Linked DNA regions of Homo sapiens: region 1 is linked to region 2. Evidence: promoter capture Hi-C in 16 types of primary human blood cells and fetal thymus (Javierre and others, 2016). All regions are on one chromosome and are shown on one strand. Each heading gives the region's core, a stretch centred on a gene start or on the middle of the fragment in contact. The rest is flanking DNA. Distances are from core to core; before and after follow the strand shown. Region 1 overlaps MAT2B (methionine adenosyltransferase 2 non-catalytic beta subunit). Region 2 holds the start of TAF7 (TATA-box binding protein associated factor 7).

Region 1 (4,913 bases), core at 445-2,944, about 22 Mb after region 2:
CCATCCTGCTCCATTCCACTTAAGGGCCTCCAGCATTAATCTGTCCACAGAACATATCCAACCCTGGGGATAAGAACACTACTAATGCCCAGACCATGTCTTTTGGAGAGAGTAGAGAATATAGGAGATGGCTGTTTCTGTTATTGCAAAGTTTTCATGCTTCCAAATTTACTTAGGGTTTTCAAATCACTTTGGTTCTTTGAGGGTAAAGTTAGGATAAATGGTCTATTAAACCTCTATGTTCCTAGGTCCTCCAGACCGTGCTGAGTGCATGTTACATACGTTTACATTTATATGTATGCATTTGTATGTGTACGTGTGCATATAAAGCTTAATCTACTTTCACAAAAAGAAGTTCAGTATAAAAATGAAAATAGCTTTTCGTGTTTTCCTTCATTAAAAATGAAACAACGAAGAGCTTGGCACAGACTTACTGCTCTCAAAACCTGTAGAATTAAAGCTTACTGACTCATGAGAACGAGAACTGTCTCATAGTTAACGTTAGAGAAGCATCCTGGAGTGGTTGTTGTTAGTAATACTGTCTGTGGAGCACAGTAGCGTCGCAGTAGAAGTTAGACCAATCCCACCTAAGTAGTCAGAGAATCTTAAAAAGTAAAGCCCAGTAATGTTTACCTTAAGGGTCTGTTTCTGGGGAATTAAAAAATTAAACATGGAACTGTGCCAAGTTTTAAAGTTTCCAAAAACGACAAGGTATTTACCACTGAAATTTGGGAAAACCACATACTAATAGTATTCCATTCTTTACTTTTCTAGAACATTTTTAGTAGACATTAATGCAGGTGTGCTAAAGTAGAAATCACTGTCCCAGAGTACTGTGTTGGACCATTTGGAAGGAGCCATGTATCTCCCATTACCTATACAATTTGGTATCATTCGATTAGATACGATAATAAGAATATTTATTTATATGTACTTAATTTTTCAAGAAATGTTTTTTTGGTGTCCATAAATCTGGTCCCTTGGAGTGATTGAATTCCGTACTTCAGAGTTTAGACAATAAGAGGCAGATACGTTTAGAGTAACTTAAACTGATATTAGATCTACTTTCCCCCATATAATAAAAATTGAGAAAAAGTAGACTTCAGGCAAAGTATTATCAACTCTTTATTGTGCCTTGAGTGAACTAGATAGCATTTTATTCTTTCATTCTGACTTTCTTAAAGTGTTTAGACATTTCTTCCTTGTGCACAACTAAAATAATTTATGGAGTGCAGGTCCAAAGTAGTTTTTAGAGGGATATTTCTTTTTCTAAAGAACGAACCAAAAAGCCTCAACAAAACAGTGTAAAAGGCAGAGTATTGCTTATATAGAAGCTCAAAAACAGAGATATTTGTTTGGCATATTTTAAATTTCGGAGTAATGCATATTCAGAGGAAAAGTTACCTTATTTAAGTAAACGAAACTATTCGGACTCCTCGTGGTAGGGATAATATGGAAAATGTTAGAAATATAGAACTTTAAAGCTGAAAGAGCCTTAGTCATTTTGTCTAAATGCCTTCCCCATTTACCAATGAGGAATTAGATCAATAGAGATAGAATAACTTCTAAACACCAATTTGTGGCAGAACAGATAAAACTTTAATCATTCATGAAACCAAATATTAGTTCACAGGATTGAGACAAAATGCAGTGTATTTGACTTGACCAGAGAAGCAAGACTCAGGTTCTGGTTCCAGCTTTTTCTCTTTTACTATAGACAAAACATTTAACACTGGACTTCTTGTTACTCTCTTTGGAAATAATATCTCTTCTAACAAGCTGCTGGGTTTTTTTGTTTTCTTTTTTTTCCTCTTGCTCTTTCACCCCGTCTGAAGTGCAGTGGCTCAATCTCTGCTCACTGCAACCTCTGCCTCCAGGGTTCAAGCGATTCTCCTGCCTCAGCCTCCCAAGTAGCTGAGATTATAGGCGCCCACCACCATGCCCGACTAGTTTTTCTATTTTTGGTAGAGACAGCGTTTCACCATGTTGGCCAGGCTGGTTTTGAACCCCTGACCTCAAGTGGTTGGTCCACCTTGGCCTCCCAAAGTGCTGGGATTACAGGCGTGAGCCCTGGCACCCGGCCTCAAACTGCTATTAAAAAAACAAAAACAGCTATGATTGTATACTTATATAACACGTTAGTTTTCTTTTTTTTGGTTTTTTTGTTTGTTTGTTTTTTTGAGATGAAGTCTAGCTCGTGTCCCCCAGGCTGGAGTGCAGTTGTGCGATCTCGGCTCACTACGACCTCCGCCTCCTGGGTTCGAGCGATTCTCCTGCCTCAGCCTCCCGAGTAGCTTAGATTACCTAAAATTACCTAGAAAAAAATATGAAACAGTGTACAGTACCCAGCAGTCAGGTGTCAGTGCTCAAGATTTTTATTAAGAGTGACGATCTGAAGTGCAAGCATTTACTGAAATGGAAATGATACTGCACAACATTTTATTTGAAAATTAACATGTTATAGGCCGGGCGTACTGGAGGCCTTACATAGTAACCCAGGGGTATAAGGATATAAAGTTGCATTTTCTCATACAACTCCACTTCCTTTTTTACGTTAAGGTATTATATTCCCTAAAGAGCCTTGTTCTTCTCTATACTTAATACTGCATCAACTCCAAGAAGCTCTTAATTAAAAGAAGATCATCTGGGCTCTTAAGTTGCATTAAGTTAGCAAAAACTACTGCAAAACTGTGACGATTCATAAGATTTTTTTTAAATTCATTTAACAGATGTTAAAATGAAACTGTACTTCACAGAGTCAGTGAAGTACACAGATCTTAATTCATTGTTTAGTAACTTTTGTGGATTGTATAATGCTTTGGCTTCTATTTCAAGTTTTCTTTTTTAAGGGGGAAAGATACTGTTGTCATTTTGAGAAAGGTAGATGGCACTTTTTGTTTTCCTTGTGTAAGAGAAACGGATTGTTATGAAAGCTTTGAACTTTCCTGGAGTTCGAGAGTACACTGGTCCTCTAAGTGCGGTCTCCAAATCACGATGATCAGCATCACTTGTTGGAACTTGTTGGGAATGCAAATTATCAAGCCCCACCCCAGACCTTTGTGATCTAAAAGCCCTCCAGGTGATTCTGATCCACACTGAAGCACGAGAACCACTGACCTTAGGAACTGTTACCTGTTCCTTTGCTTCCGTAGAGTGAAGTAAAAAGTGAGGAACTCAGAAGAAACCAAATTATCTCTCTTTTAGAGTATTTTTTCAGGAATCTTTACCGTATTTATCCTGTGTAAATTGTTTTCTCTGACTGTATCTGTACTAGACTTGGCATGTTTTCTCCTCTTTACAGTTCAATCTTTGTAGAGCTGTTTTCTTGCCAAATTTCAAAGAAAATATTTTGTTGGCTGAAATCCTTGTTTTCATAGATCAGTTGGTTTAGAGCCAAGTTTTGCAACACAGCCTGAATGAAATTGCTTTCAACTTTTAAAATGTCTTGAAATTGGTTGAACTAAGGAAAAATAATCCTAAGAATTTACCTTTATACTATCTTTCCCTGTTAGTCTTTTCATTTTACGTTTTTGATTGCTAGAAATACTTGATTTTGGTGTCTTTTAAAAAAAAATGTATGTATTCGGCTAAGTAATTTAATTGAGCTAAGGGCTTTAAAAGGTCTTTGGTTATTGTATATGTATTTAAAGATTTTGACAGCCCAGAATTAGGTGATTATAACAACTCTTGAGTTAAAATAACTGGTTTGTTTTTAATAGTAAAAGTTGACTTTATTCAAGATCCTGGTTGGAAACTTGGTGTTACCCATCTTGGGAAGAAGGGACATTTTTGGAACTATGCTTGGAAACATAGAATTTAAATTTTTTCCTAAATAGTGGTTCTTTTTCATTTCTGTGTGTAATAATTTATTTGTTTCACAGTAGCAACACAGATGAGCTTAAAATATTTTTTCTTATCCTTTGCGTTTATTAGTTTTAGCTTTTTTTTTTTTTTTTTTGAGATGTAGTCTTGCTCTTGTTACCCAGGCTGGAGTGCAGTGGTGCCATCTTGGCTCATTGCAACCTCCGCCTCCTGGGTTCAAGCAATTCTCCCGCCTCGCCTCCCGAGTAGCTGGGATTACAGGCACCTGCAACCACGCCTGGCTAATTTTTTTGTATTTTTAGAAGAGATGGGGTTTCACCATGTTGGCCAGGCTGGTCTTGAACTCCTGACCTCAGGTGATCTGCCCAGCTTGGCCTCCCAAAGTGCTGCGATTACAGGCATGAACCACTGCACCTGGCCAATTTTAACTCTTCTATGTAGGTAAATTTTGGGTTAACTAAGGAACATTTACCAATTTGGTTAAACTTAGAAAGCATTTAAGTGTTGTAAGGACCAAGTTTTTTTTCCTCCTCGTATATTCCTTTGAAATGTTGATTAATTCTCTACCTTGGGTCCATCAAAATATGATAAATTATTGAGACTTGAAAGAACATTTGGGATTAAAATCTGAAGACCAGAAATGTCAGCTTGTAAATATATTGGCAGATTTGACGCAAATACTAATCAGGCCTTAAAATAGGTAAACTTAAAACACGTTTCTCTCTAGAGACTCAAAGAGCACCTTCAGTCGTATCTATAGAAGCAAGACAAATTGTAAAGTCTTATAAACTGAAGAATGTAATGTTGTTATTTACTATTTAGGTACTTGGAGCAAAAGTATAAAAAAAGTTGCTGTTTACTAACTCATTTGGGTATTATCAATCATAAAAATAGGATTTTCTGTTAACATAGGAAATATAAATCTACATAATTCCTTGCATATCATCTTGTGTTCCTTTCCTTGGGTAAGATTATTATAACTTTTTTAATTAAAAAAATTTTTTTTTTGAAACAGGGTCTCACTCTGTCCCCCAGACTGGAGTGCATGTCATGATCTCTGCTTATTACAGCCTTGGCCTCCCAGGCTCGTG
Region 2 (4,938 bases), core at 711-3,210:
AAAACAATATAAATTTGCTGAAAAACAAAATTACAAACAAATGAAAGAACTTAACAGAACACACAGCATTAAAAGGACTAGGAAGAGCAAGGTCTTAATACCCAGTACAATAAAGCCAAGAATTTTCTAATGCTGACCAGTCTGAAGACTGAAATTAAATATCAGTTCTTTTTACTTCTCTAGGAGTGATTCTAGCTCCTCTTGCAAAGAGCTGAGTTGCTCCTTTTCTCGGTCTTCCTTTTGTTTGAGCTCATCCAGTACAGCCTGAAATCTGTTCTTGAGAGCCAGATTTTCCACTTTCATGATGAGATCCTCTTGTCGTTTTGCCCTGTCCTGGGTCTCTTGGAGCTTGCCTTTCATGTTGTCAATCTGCTTCTGAATTCCCATAACCAGCTGATTGGTTCCTTCATTTTCCTGGTGCTGTTCATCTGATTCATTTAGCTTGTCCTGTAGCTGTCTCTCCAGATCTTCCTCCGTGTCAATGATGTTTATATCTTCTTCATCTTGATGCTGGGTCTCATCTTCATCCTCACTGCTGCTGCTGAGGTCATTGAATATCTCCCGAAGCTCATCATGTTCTAATGAGTCATGGCCCTGCCTGTGACCAGACATTCCTGGAGAAGAGATATCCAGGCCTTGATTTTCTGCCTCCTTTGTTTCATCTTCGGCAATTATTTCCCACCGAGTACTAACAGCTTCAGCATCTGTACTCAGCAATCGTTTCACTTCTTTTTCAACATCTGGAGATTCAATATATTTCTTCTTTGCTGTCTTCCGGAACCTTCTCTTCCTGACATTCTTTAGAGGCAGAGTAATTCCGTGGTTCCAGATAAACTTTTTCTCTTTGTCCTTATCCTTTTTCTTGCTTGCTTTAGGATCAGTGCTAGCAACTGGCTCCTCCACAGGAGGATAGAGATCACCATCAACTGTGGATACAAGCATCTGACAGATATCAGCTGTCTTGTAAAAAGTTTTTTTATCAATGGTTTTCAAGCTTTCCATAACACAGGGCAGGTCTACTAATTTTGAGGCCAATGGAACACGGTCCACTCTGACGATTCCATGACGCCCATCAGGATGTAACTCAATTGTCAGTCTGTCCTTGAGGTTGACATGACCAGACTGTACTGCCCTTCTCACAGTAGAGGCATATTCTGGAGGCAGACGTAAGATAAACTGGCTCTCCAGTTCGTGAGGAGCATCATCTTTGCTTTTACTCATCTTTATTTCCTTGTGATTCACTTCTCCAATAAATGCTGGTTACACTAAAAAGTTCCAGCTACTGCAATAGTTTAAAACACCAGTTTGCTATGAATTGAAATCTTTTAATTACAAGAAGTTCTCTGTAGATCAGCAGCTAAGCGTCTATTTTGCCTTAGTTTTTATTTAAGCTCCAAGTCTTTTCTCTAAATATGCTGTGACCGAATACCAGTCGTTAACACAAAGGCTTATTCACAGACTTAAGTTCATTAAATCAGATGCAATGCCAAGTCCCAACCTCTAGGTGCCGCTGCCGGACAACGCGGAGAGAGCTAGCTAGCTAGCTAGGGAACAGGAAAGCAAATGGCGGCTCCCCCGGAACGGTTTTCGGCCCAGAAAGCCCAGCAGAGATACTTTCAACTCACAAACTCTCCCGGAACAAAGACACTCAAAAAATCAGGGCTCAGCGAGCTCTCTTCGCCTCGGGTACTTACAATCCAGTGACGATTATAAGTTCAGTTTCACCGGGCCGGAGCGAAGGGAAGAGGAGGCCGCAAGGAGCCAAGCGGGAGAGAGCCGAGCGTCTCCTTGTCGTTTCCTTAATTCTTCCTGCCGCTTGGCAGAGTGATCCACTACCGATTACTGATGAAAGGGCCCGGGATGGGCAGCGCGAAATCTTGCCGAGAGGCGCAGCTCGCATCACCAGACCCCGCACCTCGCCGGCCCTCCGTCCGGGTCGCCTACCCAGCAAAAACGGAAGTGCTACGTCGCGACGCGGGGCGGGAGGCGGCTGTGAGTGACAGCCCCTCCGGGCGGAAGGGCGGAGCCCCAGCTAGCGCAGGCGCAATAGCGCAATTACGCTGCCCAGCGTGAAACTCATCTTTTCGCGAGAACTTGTTTTTCCGGGATGGAAATGACAGTGTTTCGGAAGAGCTGTTGGTTTCAAACTATTTAGAGCTTGGAAGTTCCAAGAAAGACACAGATTCGTCCCCCGCTAAGCCAGCACTTTTACGGGATCGCTGTGGGGCCGGATGGCTTCTAGACTTCCGGGTGATTCCGGGAGATGGGGGACGCCTTGCAGTAAGCGTCTTTGCTTCTGGAAACATCTCGGATGTTCCCTAGAGTCTAGCCTATCTGGTGCCAATACAAGAATGTGTAGCTACTATACAATGGATTTCAAAGTACCCAAATCAATGGAGTGAGGAGGACATGCAGCTTACTATATAAGTCTCTCTCTATATATATGTTTGTTTGTTTGTTTTGGAGATGGAGTCTCAGGCTGTCACCCAGGCTAGAGTGCAGTGGCACAATATTGGCTGACTGCAACCTCCACCTCTGGGGTTCAAGCGATTCTCCTGCTTCAGCCTCTTAAGTAGTTGGGATTACAGGCACGTTCCACTACCCCACCTAAGTTTTGTATTTTTAGTAGAGAAGGGGTTTCACCATGTTGGCCAGGCTGGTCTCGAACTCCTGACCTGAGGTGATCTGCCTGTCTTGGCCTCCCAAAGTACTAGGATTATAGGTGTGAGCCAGCGCGCATGGCCCAAAGTCTGTATTTTTAAATATAATTCCCTGTAGGGGAATTGTGCCTCTGGTTTTACTTGTGTTCTATAATACTTCTGGGGAAACAAGGGTGATTCCTTTTTATGTGCTTGATTTAGATGTAAATGTAAACAGAGAAGGAAGTGTTCTTTTGGACAGAATTGTCTGATAGACTGAGCATCTGGTTAAAGTAGATATAATTGAAGTATTGTTTCCTGTCTCTCATGTACAAGTAATTTTAAATTACTTTGACATTTTTTTTAACTCCACCTCTACTATTTTGCTGTTTTCTGCTTGTCTTTTCTATCAATAGTCAGGTATTCATCAACACATATTTTTAGTATTTTAACATAACTGGGTAACAGTTGGTACTTATTTCTATTTATTTCCATTTATTTTTAAAATATCTGGGAGAGCATCAAGGCCATTAATATTTCATTTCTATCCTCTAAAATATTAACAATTGCCCCTAAATTTAAGAGAATTCTCTTAAGATGTAATTAACATTTCCAAAATTCACTTTATTCTTGTATGATTGAAAGCTCCATGATAGTGATCTTCTTCTATCCTGGTCATTGTGTCCCAGTGCCTAGTACCAGAATGTGGGAGATACACAAAAAATATTTGCTAATTGAATGAAAAAACTTATCTGTCTAGAAAGATCATAGTCTCAAATCCTGTAGTGATTTCTGAGAGAAAATACATTCTTTGTCATTTTAAAATGAGATAGAGCCACTTTACATACATTTCCTTTCTAGTCAAGGACAATTCTAATTGTTATGAGGTGGGGAGGTTTACTAATAGTGTGTGTGAATGTGGTTTAGCTAGAATGAGATACTGTTGTGGGAGGAAATTAAAATGACCTGACGTTAGTTTGGTTTTTAATGTTAATTTTAAAAGAGAAAGTATGCCCTTCCAGATAACGGTAAATTATTTCTCTTTGCTTATAATGTGTTGAAGAATGTTAGCTGACTTACTTGTAATTTCCAGAATGATCTATTTCCTCTTTTTCAAAGATGAAGTTTTTTCTGTTACAGGCTTGAGCCACCTCGCCTGGCTGTGTTTTGTTTAACCATATACAATGTGAGGTCATTATACATGAAAATAATCCAAATATTACTCAGCATCTTCCCTATGAGTTTTATGATGCTCAAATATTCTTATCATAGAAGGTAACTTGAGATAAATTGTATGCAATTTTTCATTTTCCAAAATTACTGTGTATTTTAGTTTCTAAACCTTTCTTTACATGGAATATTGCCAGACATAGTTAAAAGGATTAACTGAGGTTTTCTTAATGTATCTAGCTCCTTCAGTCCTGAAATACATTTTCTGCTTTTGAGTTTAACACATTTTCTATATGCTGTTTTAGGGGAGGAAATTATATTGACCCTAAATATTTTTTTAAATTGGATTTATCAGTAGACATTAAGATAATCTGCTGGGTGCAGTGGCTCATGCCTGTAATACCAGCACTTTGGGAGGCCAAGGCGGATGGATCATCTGAGGTCAGGAGTTCGAGACCAGCCTGGCCAACATGGTGAAACCCCATTTCTACTAAAAATACAAAAAAAGGGCCAGGCGCCGTAGCTTACGCCTGTAATCCCAGCACTTTGGGAGGCCGAGGCGGGTGGATCACGAGGTCAGGAGATTGAGACCATCCTGGCTAACACGGTGAAATCCCGTCTCTACTAAAAATACAAAAAATTAGCCGAGTGCGGTGGCAGGCACCTGTAGTCCCAGCTGCTCGGGAGGCTGAGGCAGGAGAATGGCGTGAACCCAGGAGGCAGAGTTTGCAGTGAGCCGAGATCGCGCCACTGCACTCCAGCCTGGGCAATAGAGGGGACTCCTTCTCAAAAATAAAACAAAAACAAAAACAAAAACAAATTAGCCAGGCTTGGCGGCGGGCACCTGTAATCCCAGCTACTCGGGAGACTGAGGGAGGAGAATTGCTTGAACCCGGGAAGCGAAGGTTGCAGTGAGCCAAGATTGCACCATTGCACTCCAGCCTGGGCAACACTGGAGCAAAATTCCATCTCAAAAAGAAAAAAAAAAAAAAAGATAATGTGATGTGGCAGTCCTCTGCCTATCACTAAGGCCTAAGGCCTCTGCCACATCACATTATCTTAATGTCTACTGATAAATCCCCAGTTTTTTTTTAAAAAAAAGTTCCATTAGACATTCAGAAAAACTCTG

Evidence for each region. Contacts are between HindIII fragments. The CHiCAGO score rates a contact against its expected background, and 5 or more counts as called.
Region 1: a contact is called between a fragment that was not itself captured here and the fragment with the promoter of TAF7 in region 2, in 1 of 17 cell types (naive CD8 T cells). The highest score is 5.1, in naive CD8 T cells.

The regions. Positions count from the first base shown.
Region 1 is chr5:163,506,455-163,511,367 of GRCh38, forward strand. The region is part of intron 1 of MAT2B (methionine adenosyltransferase 2 non-catalytic beta subunit); the gene reads left to right. Among named protein-coding and RNA genes, the nearest start is that of MAT2B, 3.3 kb to the left of the region's middle. The HindIII fragment of the contact is 2,473 bases long and covers 459-2,931 here.
Region 2 is chr5:141,318,824-141,323,761 of GRCh38, forward strand. It overlaps TAF7 (TATA-box binding protein associated factor 7), which reads right to left and starts at 1,961. Exons shown (of 1, transcript NM_005642.3): 1 at 1-1,961. The coding sequence starts at 1,221. The coding sequence ends at 172. RefSeq lists enhancers at 1,490-1,689, 2,270-2,329, 2,340-2,489. The HindIII fragment of the contact is 5,333 bases long and covers 993-4,938 here.